Regions from separate parts of the Homo sapiens genome. Here region 1 is linked to region 2. The links are contacts of gene promoters, found by promoter capture Hi-C in blood cells and fetal thymus (Javierre and others, 2016). All regions are on one chromosome and are shown on one strand. Each heading gives the region's core, a stretch centred on a gene start or on the middle of the fragment in contact. The rest is flanking DNA. Distances are from core to core; before and after follow the strand shown. Region 1 overlaps UBE2T (ubiquitin conjugating enzyme E2 T). Region 2 holds the start of ARL8A (ARF like GTPase 8A).

The links. The method cuts DNA at HindIII sites, captures the fragments that hold promoters and counts their contacts. A CHiCAGO score of 5 or more calls a contact.
Region 1: a contact is called between a fragment that was not itself captured here and the fragment with the promoter of ARL8A in region 2, in 4 of 17 cell types (naive CD8 T cells, fetal thymus, naive CD4 T cells and 1 more). The highest score is 7.3, in naive CD8 T cells.

Annotation. Positions count from the first base shown.
Region 1 is chr1:202,335,278-202,341,419 of GRCh38, reverse strand. UBE2T (ubiquitin conjugating enzyme E2 T) reads left to right here. Exons shown (of 7, transcript NM_014176.4): 2 at 5,602-5,774. The coding sequence starts at 5,666. Among named protein-coding and RNA genes, the nearest start is that of UBE2T, 3.6 kb to the left of the region's middle. RefSeq lists enhancers at 1-414, 3,831-4,354, 4,355-4,879. The HindIII fragment of the contact is 850 bases long and covers 2,461-3,310 here.
Region 2 is chr1:202,140,656-202,147,337 of GRCh38, reverse strand. It overlaps ARL8A (ARF like GTPase 8A), which reads left to right and starts at 2,601. Exons shown (of 7, transcript NM_138795.4): 1 at 2,601-2,888. The coding sequence starts at 2,766. It overlaps PTPN7 (protein tyrosine phosphatase non-receptor type 7), which reads left to right. Exons shown (of 10, transcript NM_002832.4): 10 at 1-322. RefSeq lists silencers at 2,401-3,110, 3,611-3,660. The HindIII fragment of the contact is 25,746 bases long and covers 1-6,682 here.

The DNA.
Region 1 (6,142 bases), core at 1,636-4,135, 190 kb before region 2:
TTTTCAGTAGAGACGGGGTTTCACCGTTTTAGCCGGGATGGTCTCGATCTCCTGACCTCGTGATCCGCCCGCCTCGGCCTCCCAAAGTGCTGGGATTACAGGCGTGAGCCACCGCGCCCGGCCTGTTCTTTTGTCTTCTTCAACATCTGGTCCAAACCCACGTTTCGTTCATTAATTATCCAAATTTACTGCAGACTTGATACAAAAAAAGACTAGGGACCTGCTGTCAAGGAATTCCTCCTAAGGAGAAGAAACTGTCAGGTGAATTAGAACACGATGCAAATAGATGTAGACGCACAGAGGGTGACGTTGGAAAGGTGTGAGTGGTGGGGAGGCATTACTGGAGAAGGAGTTGTGATTTAATATGTAACCTTTAATATCTAAAGGTGTGAAAGAATAAAACTTTTATGGGCAGCAGGAATAGTGCAGTGTGGCTGAAGCATGAGTTTGTGGAGAGTAGATACTGGATATAAGGCGGGATATAAGGGTTAGATTGTAAAGAACCTTTATACCCTGAAAAATAGGCAGTTATTCATGGCATTTGAGCCAAAGAATGGCATATGCCAATTTTGGTTAACATAGTGAGGCTGGAGTCTGGTTGCTTCCTTGGGAGAAATTGTCTTGCTTGTTCTAATCCTTTTACCATGGCTTTCCACTGTTCTCATTTTATATAAAGGTATACTTTATACTTGTGATACTTTTACTGTACAGTCAACCCTCTGTATCCATGAGGGATGGTTCCAGGACATCCTGCAGATCCCAAATCCACCAAAGGTCAAGTCCCAGATATAAAATGGTGTAGTATTTGCATATAACCTATGCATGTCCTCCCATATACTTTATATTTAAGAGATGGGGATATCCTTTGTTGCACAGGCTGGTTCTTTTTTTCTTTTTTTTTTTTTTAAGAAAGGGTCTCGCTCTGCCACCCAGGCTGGAGTGCAGTGGCGCGATCTTGGCTCACTGCAACCTCCGCCTTCCTGGTTGAAGCCATTCTCCTGCCTCAGCCTTCCAAGTAGCTGGGATTACAGGCGTGCACCACCACACTTTGCTAATTTTTGTATTTTTAATAGAGATGGGGTTTCCTCATGTTGGCCAGGCTGGTCTCAAACTCCTGACCTCAAATGACCCACCCACCTTGGCCTACCAAAGTGCTGGGATTACAGGTGTGAGCCACCATGCCTGGCCAGTTTTGTTTTGTTTTGTTTTTGAGACAGAGTCTTGCTCTGTCGCCCAGGCTGGAGTACAGTGGCGCGATCTCAGCCCACTGTAACCTCCACCTTCTGAGTTCAAGCCTTTCTCCTGCCTCAGCCTCCTGAGTAGCTGGGATTACAGGCCTCCACCCCCGCAGCTGGCTAATTTTTATATTTTTAGTAGAGAGGGGATTTCCCCATGTTGGCCAGGCTGGTCTGGAACTCCCGATCTCAAGTGATCCACCTGCCTCAGCCTCCCAAAGTGCTGGGATTACAGGCGTGAGCCACTGTGCCAGGCCTCACAAGCTGGTCTTGAACCTCTGCATGTCCTCCCATATACTTTATTTATTTTAGAGATGGGGTTCTCCTTTGTTGCACAGGCTGGTCTTGAACCCCTGGCCTCAAGTGATCCTTCTGCCTTGATCTCCCAAAGTGCTGCAATTACAGGTGTGAGCCACCGTGCCCAGCCCCACCCCCATATACTTTGAATTATTTCTTGATTACTTATAATACCTAATAAAATGCTAAGTAAATTGTTGTTACACTGTATTGTTTAGGGAATAATGACAAGAAAAAATGTATAGTACGTGTTTGGACGAAGATGTTTTTTTTTTTTTTTTTTTTTTTGAGACAGAGTCCTAATCTATCGCCCAGGCTGGGGTGCAGTGGCGTGATCTTGAAGTACAAAACACTTCCAGCAAAAAATCTTTATTTTTAAGAAAAAAGTATTTTTTCTCATTTTCTATTTTTGTCATAAATTTTTATTCTTTCCAGTGGAACCAAAACTTGAACTTCCTTTTGGTTGATACATGCCCAGCAAGACTGATCAAAGAAAAGATGGCACAGATAAACAGTGTTAGAAATGAAAATGGAAACATAACCATAGATAACTACAGATTAAAAAGATAAAACATTATACAAATAAATTGAAAATTGCATGTAATAGATAAATTTGTGGAAAAATTTAACTTGCCAAAATTGATGCAAGAATAAATAACTTGAATAAGATTCAAGTAAATTGGATTTGTAGGTTAAAATTTTCTCAAAATGAAAACACCAGGATCAGATGGAGTTATTCCAGACAACCTAGTAACAAATTATCTCTTGGACTAATCCACAATATGTTAAAAAAAAAAAAAAAAAAAAAAAGGAGGCAATACTCCCTAACTCATTTTAGGAGGCTAGCATAACCTTGATAGCTAATAAAGACAAAATTAGAAAGGACAGTTATAGGCCAGTCTTACTGATTAGCATAGTGTTAAAAGCTTTCCCTTTAAGGTTAGAAATCTGACAAGAATGCCAACTATCAGCTTTTCTTTCTTTCTTTTTTCTTTTTTTTTTTTGGCTGTTGTTTAGACAGGGTCTCACTCTGCCTCCCAGGCTGGAGTGCAGTGGCACAATCATGGCTCACTACAGCCTCAGTCTCCCCGGGCTCAGGTCATCCTCCCACCTTAGCCTCCTGAGTAGCTGGGATTACAGGCTCATGCCAGCATGCTTGGCCCAGCTATCAGCTTTTTCATTTAACATTGTACTAGAAGTTACTGTCAGAATAGAAGGCAGGAAAAGAATTAGAAGGGAAGAAATAAACTTGATTATATGTGGATGACATGATTGGCAGTGTGGAATTACCATTCCCAGACTGCTCCCCACCCCAAATAGATTCATCATTAGCATTACTAAGGCTTTGGTTAAAAATCAGTTAGATTGGCTGGGCGAGGTGGCTCATGCCTGTAATCCCAGCACTTTGAGAGGCTGAGATGGGTGGATTACCTGAGGTCCGTGGTTCGAGACCAGCCTCACTAACATGGAGAAACCCTGTCTTTACTAAAAAAATACAATATTACCTGGGCCTAATGGTGCATGCCTGTAACGCCAGCTACTCAGGAGGCTGAGACAGGAGAATCGCTTGAACCCAGGAGGTGGAGATTGCGGTGAGCCAAGAGCACACCATTGCACTCCAGCCTGGGCAACAAGAGCAAAACTCCATCTCAAAAAAATAAAAAAAAATCAATTAGATTTACATGTATCAGTAAGAAATGGGTAGAAAATAGTGTTTTTGAAAAGATAGCAAAAATATAAATACTTAGAAATCAGTCTAACAAAAATTAGATAAAGCTTTATAGAGAAAATTATAAAACCTTTGGAAAGCATCAAAAAAAAGACTGAAACAGCGTGTTCATGGATCTTAGGATTCAATATCATAAAGATATCAGTTATCTCCAAATTGATCTATAGCATCAATAAAATTACAATCCAAACCACAGAACCCTGTTATGATTTGGATTATAATTTCAGATATACATATTTATGTATATATTTATGGACTTATGAACTGATTCTCAAATTTATATGGAAGAGCAAAGAGTCAAGAATAATCAAGTCATTCCTGAAGAAAAAGACCAGGTGGATAAGCTATAGTAAAACATCACATTGTACACCTTAAATATATACAATTTGTATTTGCCAGTTATACCTCAGTAAAGCTGGGAAAAAATTTAAATAATAAAAAATGAATAAGCTATAGTAATTCAAACAGTGGAGTATTGTCTCAGAAATAATCCACTTGACCAGTGGAACAAATTCAAGAGTCCCAAAACAAATCCACACATATAGAAATTTAATTTATAGTAATATCAGCAGGGAAAGGATGGACTGATTCAGTAAATGATGTTAGAACAATTGACTATTCATATGGGGAAAAACTTTAAATTGGACCCCCACCTCACTCACTATACATAAAATTCAATTCCTAGTGGATTCAATATTTAAATTTGAATAGCAAAATTATAAAATATTTGAAGGCTATGTAGGAATATCTCTACATTTGGGGGTAAGGAAAAATTTAATACACAAAGTATAAATGTAAAGAAAGAGATTTTAAGATTGATTATGTTAAGAGTATGTGTTTATTGAAAGACACCATGTACAACATGGAAAGATAAGCACAAACTGGGGGATATTTGTAACACATTAAAGGATTGGTGTTGGCTGGGCGCGGTGGCTCACGCCTGTAATCCTAGCACTTTGGGAGGCTGAGGTGGGTGGATCACGAGGTCAGGAGTTCAAGACCAGCCTGGCCAAGATGGTGAAACCCCATCTCTACTAAAAATACAAAAAGTAGCCGGGCGTGGTGGCGGGCGTCTGTAATGCCAGCTGCTCGGGAGGCTGAGGCAGAGAATTGCTTGAACCCGGAAGGCTGAGGTTGCAGTGAGCCGAGATCGCACCACTGCACTCCAGCCTGGGCAACAGACCGAGACTCCGTCTAAAAAACAAAAGGGATTAGTGTCCTTTGCTTGGTTAGTAAAGAGAGAACTAGAGTTGAGAAGAGTGTTGGGTGAATATGTGTGTAGGTGTTGGTTTTAGGTGAGAGAGACTTTGAGCATATTTGAACATTGAGGGTAAGAAAGATGGAATAATTGATGGAATGGTATCCCTGAAGATTGGGAGAAGGTGGAATCCATAGCACATGGAGAGAAACTCGGACATTTAACATTTGTTTGTACCTGAGAATGTTGACTATCTCTACCATTCTTGCTCTCACAAAGCATATGTAGACTTCCTCACAACAGCAAATATTTGTCAAATCCCTTACTATGACAGGCATGCTAAGGCTACAATAGTAAGCAAAATCAGACCCAGGCCTGGCCTCATGAGTTTATAATTTATCAGTGGAAACACCCATTATTTAAAACCTTTAGTGTTTTTATTTTTTGTAGAACTTTTTGCATTTTTAGTTCTTTATTTTAAAAATATATTTGCTTGTATAGATAAACGTTCACAAGAAGGGAGTGGAAAAACTCAGATTCCCTTGTCAGAATAGAGATTAATAAGAGGAATCTTGGACTGGCGTGGTGGCACACACCTGTACTTCCAGCTACATAGGCGGCTGAGATGGGAGGATCACTTAAGCCCAGCAGGTGGAGATTGCAGTGAGCTGAGATTGTGCCACTGCACTCCAGCCTGGGTGACAGAGCAAGACCCTGCCTCTAAAAAAAAAAAAAAAAAAAAAAAAAAAAGCTGGGTGCATTGGCTCACGCCTGTAATCCCAGCACTTTGGGAGGCCAAGGCAGGCGGATCACCTGAGGTCAGGCATTTGAGACCAGCCTGGCCAACATGGCGAAACCCTGTCTCTACTAAAAATACTAAAATGAGCTGGGCATGGTGGTGCACGCCTGTAATCCCAGCTACTCTGGAGGCTGAGGCATGAGAATTGCTCAAACCCAGAAGGTGGAAATTGCAGTGAGCTGAGATGGTGTCACTGCCCTCCAGTCTGGGTGACAGAGTGAAACTGTGTCTCAAAACAAAAAAGAGGACTCTGTCCCCCACCCTCACTACATTGAAGCTGTTTGCTGAAAACTTCATAGTCATTATTGCTGATGATTTTATGGTCACCTCTTTTCTCCTCCAGTGCATCCCAGGCAGCTCTTAGTGTGGAGCAGTGAACTGTGTGTGGTTCCTTCTACTTGGGGATCATGCAGAGAGCTTCACGTCTGAAGAGAGAGCTGCACATGTTAGCCACAGAGCCACCCCCAGGCATCACATGTTGGCAAGATAAAGACCAAATGGATGACCTGCGAGCTCGTAGGTATCAAATCATGTATATGATGAAAGTCATGACCCTATTGAAGATTGTGCTGAAATAAAACATTTTGTGTATTCTTCTAAAGTAAGGAGCAGTTATAAGGTCAGAGTGCCCTACCATCTTTCTACCCAAATTTGTTTACATTTATAAAAGGTTTGCTTGACATTTCTTGCTTCTTTGACTTTTTATTATACCTTATGCTGATTTATAGCCAAGATTTAAAGCAGTGAAGCAGTGTTTAGATCAAAGATAACCATCTCAAATATCTGTGAGGCCAGATGGGAAACATACATGATTAGAATACTGCGGTCCAAACAAAACAAATCTATAGGTTGTATTTGGTCTTGTGGCCAGCATTTTGCAACTT
Region 2 (6,682 bases), core at 1,352-3,851:
AACTGAGGATGATTTCCCTAATGCTTCTGCTTGGCCTTATGGAGGAGCTGCTCCTTCCTTACAGCCTTGGGGATGGACTTGCCCACACCTCCACCTCCCCTGAGCCCTGTGAGAGGCACGACTGTCTATGCCAATGAGGCTCGGTGGGGGGCTCTCAAGTGCCTGATCCTGCCCTGGGCTCAGAGCCAGCCCAGAGGGAAGCAACTGCACAGCCCCACAGGCCCTCCCTGGCACTGTCCCCCCAACCCCATCTCAGAGCTCAGAGGGTACAAGCTCCAGAACAGTAACCAAGTGGGAAAATAAAGACTTCTTGGATGACTGACTCATTCCTTCTTTCCATCTTCTTCTTGGCCCTCTGGGGCCTCTTTGTAGCAAGAGAGAAAGACTGCAGACCAGGGACAGGCAGGCTGCAAATCTTTGCCCTTGGGATATGCACTTTTCTAGCACTTCCAAGGACATAAAGTAAGGTGAAACCAAAGTCAATTTAGGAAGTGAGACAGGGTGGACCCTCATAGCCTACCCAGGCAGCTGTAACAATTCACACTACCGTAAACCATGTGGCTTCTAAACAACAGAAATGTATTGCTGGCCTGGCGTGGTGGCTCATGCCTGTAATCCCAGCACTTTGGGAGGCCGAGGCAGGCGGATCACGAGGTCAGGAGATCCAGCTAACACAGTGAAACGCTGTCTCTACTAAAAATACAAAAAATTAGCCGGACGTGGTAGCACACACCTGTAGTCAGCTATTCGGGAGGCTGAGGCAGAAGAATTGTTTGAACCCTGGAGGTGGAGGGTGCAGTGAGCTATCATGCCACTGCACTCCAGCCTGGATGACAGAGCAAGACTCCATCTCAAAAAAAAAAGAAAAAAGAAAAAAAGAAATGTGTTGCTCACAGTTCTGGAAGCTGGGAAGTCTAGGATCAAGACCCTTGCAGACTCAGTGTCTGGCTATTAGGCAGAGCCTTCTTTCTGTCCTTGCATGGTGAAAAGGTTGTGGGCTGGTATTCTTCCCCCTAATCCCACCGGCCCCCTTTATAAGGCTCTACCCTCATGACTTAATCACCTCCTAATACCATCACTTTAGGGATTAGGACTTCAACCTATGAATTTGGGGGGACACAAACATTCAGTCCATAGCCTTTATCTTAGGAGCTAGAGGAGGACTTATAAAGGGCAGAGGTTAGAAAGATGGTGCTTAATAAACCAGAATATTGGCCAGGCTCATGCCTGTAATCCCAGCACTTTGGGAGGCTGAGGCAGGCAGATGGCTTGAGCTCAGGGCTTCGAGACCAGCCTGGACAACATGGCAAAACCCCGTCTCTACCAAATATACAAAAATTAGGCTGGCATGGTGGCGCATGCCTGTAGTCCCAGCTACTCGGGAGGCTGAGGTAGAAGAATCACCTGAGCCCGAGGAGGTGGAGGCTGCAGTGAGTCGAGATCCCACCGCTGCACTCCAGCCTGGGCCACACAGTGAGACCCCATCAAAAAAAAAAAAAAAAACAATATTATGCTAGCCGAAACCTTGTGATTCTTCTACTTTGGTAACTGTTTGACTATTTGGGGTCATCTAACTCCAGTTGATTGGACAGATATGGTTGATATTGATAGTTTACCCACTTTTGACTAAAACAATAGACTACATATGACTACATTTGAAAACCAAACCCCAACGGGCAGCCAGCATAGGCTGGGGACTGCCCGAAGCCTGAGCCTACCCGGGACTGCCAGCTGAGGTTGTCAGCCTGCCTGAGCAGGTCCTATGGGTGGGTCTTGCAAGGAGAGGGGCAGGAGTAAGGCATCTTTGCAGGCACTCCAGACCCACTTCAAGAGGAGAACTATCACTTCTCCTCCTGAAGAATACTCTGCTTTTCACCAAAACAGGGCAACATTTTCCTTTGTCACAGACGTTCCTCACTGAAAACCCCCTGCCAGGACTGTATCTGTTTGGGTATCTTGGGGATGCTGGTAAAAATCCGGAGCAAGTTCAAGCGTCCGTTTCACTTGGGGCCAGAGGCTTCCTAACAAGTGGTCGGGGTAAATTGTGGTGAACAAAACAAGATGGAGTATTAAAAGACCCGAATACGGTTGTCCCTCTGCACTGGGTGCATTTTGAGAGGATGGGACTGTACCCAGGAATGCTCAGAGGCAAGGGTTCAGGGACAAAAAAGCCTCCATCTGCCTCCCTGTCGTAGAGATCTCATCTCCGTGTCCTGGGAAGTGGGTGACCCACTCTCCTTCAACCTGAAAAGGCTCCTGCTTAACCGGAACCTCACCCACCTCGAGCCCACCACCCTTTAAGAAAGGGGGTGCCAGTCAGGGCGCGGCAGTCGGGGACAGGGTCTAAAATAAATTAGACCCCATTTCCCAAGCGCCTCTCGACGCCAGCTGCCGGTCAACCCCCGCCGCTGAAGCCTGCGGATTCCCTGCTCACCCCACCTGCGGATTCCCTGCTCACCCCACCTGCGGGTGCGGCCCCTGGCCCCCCGGCTCCAGCGAGGGAGGAGCGCGCGCTCGGGTGCGAGCAGGACACGGCCCGGCCGCGAGGGAGGGCGGCGGCGGCGGCGGAGGAGGAGGGCGCGGAAGCCACACCCATCGGCGAGCCGATTCCGGGGCAGCGAGTCGTCGGCAGCCGCGCTCGAGCCTCCGCCCGCACCGAGCCGCGGGACCCGGGCCGTACCGGGGAGGGGCCGCTCCGGGCCGCAGCGCGAGGGCAGCGAGGGGCGGCGGGGACCTGGCACCGGGCGGGGCCGGCGGCAGCGACCATGATCGCTTTGTTCAACAAGCTGCTGGACTGGTTCAAGGCCCTATTCTGGAAGGAGGAGATGGAGCTCACGCTGGTCGGGCTTCAGTACTCGGGCAAGACCACCTTCGTCAACGTGATCGCGGTACGAGGGCGTCGGGCGCGGGGTCCCCGGGCGCGGGCCGCGGGTCGGGCCTGTCCCCGCCCGCGCCGCGCCCTGCTGAGCCGGGGTCGCCGCCTGGCATAGCCGGGCACGGCCGGGCGCCGGGCGGGGGAGGAGCCGGCCCCGAGCGCTTGGGGCCTAGTACGGCCCGTGCCGTGGGGGACCGGGGCGGCGCGCGACCCGCTCTCTCACCCGGGCCGGTACTGCACGGCTGGGGGCAGGGGAAGGGGGACGAACAGACAGGGCCGGTGCCACGGGGCAGGCGGCACCGAGGGGCTCTCGAAGCAGGAGGGACCCGCTGCCGGCTGAGACGGGCCCCCTCTGGCCCCCGCGCAAGGGGGCATGACGGGGCGAAAGTGCACGGGCCTTCCTGTCCCGCGGGTAGAGGGTCACGGGACGGGGCGGCCGAGAGGCTTGAGGAGGGGGTTTGGGCAAGCCCAGCCCCACCCAGAGGGCTTAACCCCTCCTTGCCGGAAGAGGAAGCCCCGGCCCTATTGAGGGGGAGGGGAGGTATCCCCCGGGGTAGAGGAGTCAGCTGAGGCCCTTGGCTCAAGCCCAGACTCCTCCCCAACTTCTCCCCGACCCGCAGTGTCTAGCCGGGGGTCCAGGGAGGATCGCATGGTAACGGGAGTTTGGAGACTCCGTCTGGCTCAGAAGTTTGCAGGAGCAGGTGCTCCCGACAAGAGAGGATGAGGTGTAGGGGCACGGCCCACTGGGGCCTTGGGAGAGTGGCTCTAAGGGCTTTGGGTCGTCAACACTGAAGTGGGTGATTGTAAGTCTTTCAGCGCCAGGGGAGTGGTGGGGAAGGAGTTAAAATCTCTCTCAAAAAAGGGGAAGATGAGCTCCATGGGTGTGAGCTGAGGCTGCCGTAATGGCTGCGGCCTGCCTGTCAGAGCCAGGCTAGACAGGGCTTGTGGGTCGAGGAAGCATGGGACAGGGGCTGGGGTTGTCCAGGGACCTGGCCCCAGTCCCAAAGCTGAGGTTTCCCACAACTGTGAGTTGGCCAGATAGTAACCAAAGATACTGATGAGATAGGTCAGCAGAGGAATGTATCCAGCCGGCCTAGGTACCTCTACCTGTCCGTGTTGTTGCCCCACCTTGCAGAAGATGGGCCTCCTCGACAGTTCTCAGCGTCCTAGAAGGCAGGGGACGTCACTTCATTGGACCTGAGGCATGAAGGCAGATGGAAAGCTCGAGGGGCGGGCATCCTGTGGTTACACAATTGAACACTGGCTTCCTTTCCCAAACATGCTCTGCAAATGACCTCTGCCCTTTCTCGACCCAGTGTCTCCTGTCTCCTGACCTGACAGGGCAGGATCTTCAGGCCAATGCTGCGGTTTTGGCACAGTAATTTTCGGAGCTAACACCCCTGGGCTCTGTCTGCCTAGGCTCTGCCCTTGGGGTCAGAGACCCTCTGGTTAAACTTGGCATTGACTTAGGCTCTTGGATTCCCAGAGCAGGCACATAACACCTGGACTCTGACCTGACTCTGCAGGCCTAGGTGGCTTGGGTTCTAGGCGTTTAGGTCTGAGAAATGCAGCTGGGCCTAGGTATCTCCTCGTTCCCCAGGGTGTTACTATAGCTGTGCTCTGGGACAGGGATCCACAGGTACCCGGGTGGGTTCGGTTTCTGGGTCTGCAGTTGAGCCTTTGACAGGAGGGCCCCCTCTAGACCAGCATCATATCCAGAGAGTTGGAGACTATAGCAGGCCAGAAACAGAACCCAAGAGTCCCAAATTCCCCTGCCAGGGTCAAGAGTTCCTGTGATATACAGGAAAAGCACCCCATCTCCAGCCCACAAGGTCCCCTTTTTAATCTTAAATTTGCCACTTCCGCTGGCACATTCTAAAAGAGCAGGCAAGCTAAATTCCCTTCTTTAGAGAGGCTTCCCAAGGAAAACCACCCCATGTGGGCTGCAGTTGGAATTCCAGTGTCCCGGTCACTCCAGTGTTTTCAGATCCTCTGGGGCTACCACACTGGCATTGCTGCCCACCCCGTGTATAATCACAGTTGAGTGTCTTCCAGAAAGAAACGAAGAGTTGGGACCCCTGGGCTCTGTTCCCATGCCTACCACTGAATTTCTGAATTACCTGTGCCTGTTCATTTGGCCTCTGTTTGTCTCAGATCTTTCGCCATTGGGTTTTTTCTACTCACCCTATGAGGTCTGGCTGTAAATAGAAATTGAGTTTAGTGTGTCTAGCTGCTCAGCAGGTTAATGTGAGCTGGAAAGAAATTATATACACTGCTTCTAAGAACCTGAAACATCAGCCGGGCATGGTGGCTCACGCCTGTAATCCCAGCAATTGGGAGGCCAAAGTGGGGGTTTCACCTGAGGCTAGGAGTTCGAGACCAGCCTGGCCAACATGGTGAAACCCCATCTCTACTAAAAATACAAAAATTAGCCAGGCATGGTGGTGGCCACCTGTAATCCCAGCTACTTGGGAGGCTGAGGCAAGAGAATTGCTTGAACCCAGGAGGCGGAGGCTGCAGTGAGTTAAGATCGTGCCGCCACTGCACTCCAGCCTGGGCAACAAGAGCGAAACTCCGTCTCAAAAAAAAAAAAGGAACCTAAAACATCCTTTGAGTTCTGAAAAAGTTGTGATGCTAGAAAAGTGGGAGATGTTTTGTCCTAGGAAACAACAGGGTCATTTTCAAATATTTAAAAGTGTCAAAGACTGTCCTATGGAATAACTAGTCTTGGAGTGCCCAAGGGGACTTAGGAACAATGGGTGGACATTCTAGGAATGATAGATTTTTTTTTCTTTTTTTTCTTTTTTCTTTTTTTTTTTTGAGACAGAGTGTTGCTCTATCACCCAGGCTGGGAGTGCAGTGGTACAGTCTCGGCTCACTGCAACCTCCGCCTCCCAGGCTCAAGCAATTCTCCTGCCTCAGTCTCCCGAGTAGCTGGGATTACAGGCATACACCACCATGCCTGGCTAATTTTTGTATTTTTAGTAGAGATGGGGTTTCGTCATGTTGGCCAGGCTGGTCTCGAACCCCTGACCTCAGGTGATCTGCCTGCCTCAGCCTCCCAAAGTGCTGGGATTACAGGTATGAGCCACCATGTCCGGCCGGATTGTTAACTCAATATAAAGAACTTTCTGATAGTTGGAACTGACCCAAGAGGGGATGGGGCAGAAGGGACTGAAGTCTGAGACAAGAGGTTGGGCTGCATGACTTCAGGTTACTTCCAACCTTAAATGAGGAGCCTATGAGACAGGGAGGCATTAGCAGGGAAATTAAGTCATAATCTGATTCCACCTTAGCTCCGATTCACAGCTGAACAAGACCTACTGGTGCCGGGGAGCCTGGCTCCTTGAAGGTCCTCCCAGCATCCCCCTCTGCCAAGGTCACATTCTGCCAGGCTGGGCTTCTCATTTACTTGGTAGCCTGTGGATCTTCTAGTTGCCAAAGAGCAGTGATGGTTCCCCATGCTATATCGAAACCATTTCCAAGCATGTTGTGAGTCTTATTTACAGTTCCTAGGAGACCGAAACCCTTCTCCCCAGTTTTACATTCAGAAACACTGAGGTCCAGAGAAGTTCAAGTTTCTTATCCAAGCACCCCCTGGGATGAGAGACAAACAAGAACTGGGCCTCCTTCCTCAGACTCTATTGTTGGGGATGGGGTAGACTGCAGCAGGCTGCCGGGGTTTGGGTAATTACAGCACACTTAATTCTCCCTGCTTAGCTAGAAGAAGCCATTCCCTCTTCCTCAGTGGTTCCTAACTTTGGGGGCTCTCAGAACTTTTTGATATCTGAAAGAAGTGAGAGACCC